Linked DNA regions of Homo sapiens: region 1 is linked to region 2. The links are contacts of gene promoters, found by promoter capture Hi-C in human tissues and cell types (Jung and others, 2019). All regions are on one chromosome and are shown on one strand. Each heading gives the region's core, a stretch centred on a gene start or on the middle of the fragment in contact. The rest is flanking DNA. Distances are from core to core; before and after follow the strand shown.

Evidence for each region. Contacts are between HindIII fragments. The study calls those that stand out against the background at their distance.
Region 1: a fragment that was not itself captured here is called in contact with the fragment with the promoter of AIRE in region 2 in 3 of the 25 tissues and cell types used here (bladder, mesendoderm cells and spleen).

What each region holds. Positions count from the first base shown.
Region 1 is chr21:44,227,403-44,230,285 of GRCh38, reverse strand. It overlaps ICOSLG (inducible T cell costimulator ligand), which reads left to right. Exons shown (of 7, transcript NM_015259.6): 6 at 197-232; 7 at 1,242-2,883. The coding sequence ends at 1,252. Among named protein-coding and RNA genes, the nearest start is that of ICOSLG, 12 kb to the left of the region's middle. The HindIII fragment of the contact is 5,677 bases long and covers 1-2,883 here.
Region 2 is chr21:44,284,419-44,287,186 of GRCh38, reverse strand. AIRE (autoimmune regulator) reads right to left here and starts at 1,311. Exons shown (of 14, transcript NM_000383.4): 1 at 1,049-1,311; 2 at 456-630; 3 at 54-209. The coding sequence starts at 1,180. RefSeq lists enhancers at 1,832-2,433, 2,434-2,768. The HindIII fragment of the contact is 44,459 bases long and covers 1-2,768 here.

The DNA.
Region 1 (2,883 bases), core at 220-2,719, 57 kb after region 2:
TTTAAGAGGATCTTTCTCAAAAGCCACGTGGCCTGGGGAGCCCCTCATCTGTGAGTGTTTTCCCCGCCTGGAGCTGGGAGCCTTGGGGAGACTTCCAAGTAGGGTGTTTAGGGGGCTGCTGAGAGCTCAGGAACACCAGGGGCTTTAGGGACACCCCCCATCGCTGCTGCCCTGACCATTTTGGTTTGTCCTCCAGGTGCCTGGGCTGTGAGTCCGGAGACAGAGCTCACTGGTGAGTTTGCCGTGGGAAGCAGCAGGTTCTGGGGGGCCCAGGGGAGGCTTGGCTGCCAGCTGTCTTTCAGAGTTTCAAAAAACTTTCAAAAGGCAAAAGTCCCTTGCCTTGAACAACTGTTGTTCCTGGAGACGCAGCGAAGCCCTCGATGGTGCGCATGGCATTTCCTGCAGCCTCCCCTTGGCATGGGATGGCATCCTGGTGTGCACTTTGTCACACTGCGATGGGATTTTCCCAACATGCACAGAAGCAGAGAGACGAGTGCTAGACCCCCGCGCTCCCCAGTGCCCAGCCCCGACCAGGGTGTCCAGGGCGGGTCCAGGCACCGGCGCCCAGCCCCCATGGGGTGTCCGGAGTGGGTCCAGGCACCGGCGCCCAGCCCCCGTGGGGTGTCCAGGGCGGGTCCAGGCACCGGCGCCCAGCCCCTGTGGGGTGTCCGGAGTGGGTCCGGGCACCGCCAGCTTCTCTCTGTGGCAGCCACTCCTGCAGCTCTCGTTTGCCCCTCAGTTCCAGGAGCAACATAGATGTGGATTCCTGTCCAATTTGGGAAAAATGTCCACACACGGTCACCCACCTGGCAGGTGCCTCTGGCTGCAAGGGGCGCTGGGCTTCGCAGGCAGGCCAGCCGGGCTCCCCGCCATGGGCCAGGATCCCCTCCGAGCCCTGTTTGCCGCCCAGGAGAAGGGGTTCCCCGGGGACAGTGGGCTCAGGGTGTGCGCAGCCACCATGCTGTGGTGTCACCTGTGGACCCAGGCGAGCTGATGGCCGACCGCAGAAACGCACTTCCAAGGCCAGGTCGGCCCATCCAGATGATGCAGGAACACAGCTTGCTAAAAACACGGCCGGCCTGTTCCCGTCGGAGCCAGTCGAAGTTCCCTGAACAGGCCGCTGTTTCCGAAGCTTTAAACCCTGTGTTTCCACCAAGCTGAGTCCTGAGAAAACCGACGTCTGCCTGCAGAAGGGAAAGGGGTGCTTCATGTTCCTCTCTCTCCTTCATCTCCCTTCCAAGGCCACGTTTGACCGGAGCTCACCGCCCAGAGCGTGGACAGGGCTTCCGTGAGACGCCACCGTGAGAGGCCAGGTGGCAGCTTGAGCATGGACTCCCAGACTGCAGGGGAGCACTTGGGGCAGCCCCCAGAAGGACCACTGCTGGATCCCAGGGAGAACCTGCTGGCGTTGGCTGTGATCCTGGAATGAGGCCCTTTCAAAAGCGTCATCCACACCAAAGGCAAATGTCCCCAAGTGAGTGGGCTCCCCGCTGTCACTGCCAGTCACCCACAGGAAGGGACTGGTGATGGGCTGTCTCTACCCGGAGCGTGCGGGATTCAGCACCAGGCTCTTCCCAGTACCCCAGACCCACTGTGGGTCTTCCCGTGGGATGCGGGATCCTGAGACCGAAGGGTGTTTGGTTTAAAAAGAAGACTGGGCGTCCGCTCTTCCAGGACGGCCTCTGTGCTGCTGGGGTCACGCGAGGCTGTTTGCAGGGGACACGGTCACAGGAGCTCTTCTGCCCTGAACGCTCCCAACCTGCCTCCCGCCCGGAAGCCACAGGACCCACTCATGTGTGTGCCCACAAGTGTAGTTAGCCGTCCACACCGAGGAGCCCCCGGAAGTCCCCACTGGGCTTCAGTGTCCTCTGCCACATTCCCTGGGAGGAACAATGTCCCTCGGCTGTTCCGGTGAAAAGTTGAGCCACCTTTGGAAGACGCACGGGTGGAGTTTGCCAGAAGAAAGGCTGTGCCAGGGCCGTGTTTGGCTACAGGGGCTGCCGGGGCTCTTGGCTCTGCAGCGAGAAAGACACAGCCCAGCAGGGCTGGAGACGCCCATGTCCAGCAGGCGCAGGCCTGGCAACACGGTCCCCAGAGTCCTGAGCAGCAGTTAGGTGCATGGAGAGGGTATCACCTGGTGGCCACAGTCCCCCTTCTCACCTCAGCAATGATCCCCAAAGTGAGAGGTGGCTCCCCCGGCCCCCACCACCCTCAGCAGCCCCACCCCACTCAACCCTGAGGGTCCCCAGGGTCCTGATGAAGACCTCCGACCCCAGCGCCAGGCTCCTCGGAGCCCAACAGTCCCAAGGGGGCAGGAGACGGGGTGGTCCAGTGCTGAGGGGTACAGCCCTGGGCCCTGACCAGCCCCGGCACCTGCCATGCTGGTTCCCGGAATGAATCAGCTGCTGACTGTCTCCAGAAGGGCTGGAAAGGATGCTGCCAGGTGACCCGAGGTGCACTCGCCCCAGGGAGATGGAGTAGACAGCCTGGCCTGGCCCTCGGGACACATTGTCTGCCCCGGGGCTATGGGCAAATGCCCCTCCTTCTTACTTCCCAGAATCCCCTGACATTCCCAGGGTCAGCCAGGACCTGTTACAGCCCTGGTCACTTGGAACTGACAGCTGTGTGAGGCCTGCACTTCTCAGACCCAGACTTAGAACAAAAGGAGGAGTGAGGACTCAAGGCTACAATGAGGTTCCAGTACTTGTTACAAGAAATTGGTTTTCTGCAAAAAAAGTCCCTACCTGAGCCTTTAGGTGAATGTGGGATCCACTCCCGCTTTTAACATGAAAGCATTAGAAGATGTGTGGTGTTTATAAAAGAACAGTTGTCATCACCGGGCATTGATTGGCAGGGACAAGGAGCTGCTTGGGTGTGGAAAGT
Region 2 (2,768 bases), core at 62-2,561:
GGAAGCCCGGGAAGACTGGAGACCCTGGCTGGCTTCCCCTGCAGGGAGGGTACCTGGGCTGGCGGTGCCCCTTGGAGTCAGGGCTGCTGGCGCGGCAGCTCGAGCCTCTTCTGAGGCCTTCCTCTTGGTGGGGAGTCTGGGTGGCGGTACCAAAGCCTTGGGGACGGCCGGGGGCTTCCTCCCCTTCCGGGGCTGGCTGAGGTCCACATCTGCAGCTCAGGGGCAGGAGCAGGGTCCCAACCTCAGGGTTTTCTCCAGGGGTAGGGTGGGCCCCAGAACTGGACACCTTGGCCAGACAGGTGAGGCCTGGCCCCTTTGCCTCTTAGGATCCAAGACGGTCCTGGAACATCACCCACGGGCTCCTCAAACACCACTCCGGTTCCAGTCCAGCTGGGCTGAGCAGGTGACAGCAGCTGCCCCAGGCCCCCAGCATGGCTGAGTCCACCAGGACCCACCTTTGGGGAAGCTGTCCAGGATGGGCTGCAGCCGGCCATAGCGCTCCAGGTTGTAGTCCTTGAACAGCACCCTCCAGAAGTCCAGGATGGCTGTGGAGTCCTGGGTCAGCAGCCAGGACAGGAGGGCGTGGAAGGCCTGGGGGCAGCCCTCCTTTTCCTTCAGATGAAGCGTCTCCTGCAGTGGGGTGGCATGAGGGTCCCTGCCATGGTCCCCCACACCCTGCGGCCTGCCCATCTCCATCATGACTAGAGGGTGGAGCTCCCAGGCAGAGGCGCTGGCGACCTGGACAGCTCCACGCCCATCTCCTCGGCTTGTGGTGGAGTCAGGTGGTGGTGTAGGGGTGTTGAGGGTGGGGCTGGGGGAACCTGGAGGCCATTCCCTTGGCTTGGGGGTGAGGTGTGGGGACGGCTGGGGGAAGGGGACCAACTTCTAACTTGTCATCAGGGACGCCCCTGGCTCCTTGTGGGGAGGGAGTTGGGGAAGGCTGGAGGGGCTTGGGGATCTGGAGGGGCGGGGTCCTCCTGGAACTTCCCCGGGGACTATCCCTGGCTCACAGGGCCTGGGGGCAGCGGGGGGCGGGCGGGGAGCCCACCTGAAACTTGTCCTCGGGGACCACGTCGTGGTCAGCCAGCGCGTGCAGCAGTGGGAAGGCGCTGTCCACGGCCACCGCGATCTCCGTGCGGTGCAGCCTCAGAAGCCGGCGTAGCGCCGCGTCCGTCGCCATGGGGTGGGCGCGGGGACCCGGGGCTGGGGCGGACGCGGTGGGTCCCGGGACACTGGCAGCCCCTCGCTTGGCCTCGGGTCCCGGCGGGGCTGTGGGGCCTCCGCGCCGGCTGTGCGCCCGCCCGTCTCCCCGGTCTGCGAGCCACGCGCGCCGCTGTTATACCCCCGCGACCACGCAAAGAGCAAAGGCCGCTCCGCCCCGGCGCCCAATCAGGGCCAGGGCCTCCCGCAGGGACACTTCCCTGTGATGGAGGCGCTGCTGTCCCTCCCTCGCTCTCGGGAAGTCTCCGGGCCTGGCCTGACTCACCCACCAGGGCAGCTGCCTTGGGGGCTGGGGACAGAGACTCGCTCTGTGCGGGACTCAGAGAACTCTCACTTCCGAATGTGGCCCTGTCCTGCCTCGGCGAGGGCCCTGCTCGAATGGGGCAAAGCCGAGACAGGTGCCCTCGGCGGGGAGGCTCGGGTCTCAGGGCCCTGGCAGGGGCTGCCCAGGGTGCACCGGCCCCTCCCAGTGGCCGGCAAGAGCCTCCATGGAGGCTGGATCGGGGTGGTGTTCCTGGGGGACCTCCACACAAGCTGAGAGCCCCTACTCAGGGGCCCGCCTGGGGCTGTGGGAGGAGCCCGATGGAGGCTCAGTCTGATGCAGGAGACGGTACGGCAGCCTGGGTGTTGCCAGGGAGCTCCTGACCTCACCATCTTAGGCTAGCTGTGTGACGCCAGGCAAGTCCTTTCCTTCTCTGAGCCTCGGTTCCCTCATCTTTAAAAGGGGCACACTCGCCTGGGGATTGAGGCTCGCATTGACCCCCTCCTTCCTTCCTCCAGGTGCTTTAGAAGGAAGGCGGCCAGCCCCACAACGGGGGTCCTGAGTGTGGCCCTGAGTGAGAGCTCCCAAAGGGTCTTCCTAGGACCAGTGACAGAGGCTGAGGGATGCTGTGGCCTGGACAGGAGCTTCCGGGGGCATCTGGGAAGGTGTCCGGGAGGGGAGCTGCAGTGGACAGGAGCCGAGGGTCCCAGGTGGACGTGAGTGGGGACAGTGCCCCCAGTAAAACAAGACCAGGTGCAGAGGCCTGGGGCCTGCAATGATGCTGAGGCTGTGGTGGCCCCGCAGGCATGGCCTGGAGGGGGGGTGGCCTCAGTGGGAGGCCTTGGTAACAGTCCCCTTGTCTGTGCGGTCAAGCCAGGGAAGCAGGCCCTGTGTGCAGGCTGCAGAGAACCACGAGAGGTCTCTGGGCACGAGTGTTCCCACTGAGCCAGAGAACGAGATGACCTGGCCAGCATGGATTAGGGCTGAAGGGTGGACGAAGGTACCAGGAAGCCTGAATCCAGGCAGCACTGGGCTGGGGGCTAACTGATGCAGTGAGAGACGCCACCAAGATTCCCACGTGGGCAGGCGTGCCGTTTGCTTTTGGGCAGCCAGAGTCCAGGATGGAGAGCGGCAGACACCTCTCCTCTAGACCAGGGGTCGGTCTCGGTTTCTCCTACCGCCTTCAGGCCCAGGGTCCCCCTGAGCGTTCTGCACGTCTGAGATTGCTCCGGAAAAGACTCTAGGGGTGTTTGGGAACAAACCTGGGGAGGAAGGTGGGGCCAGA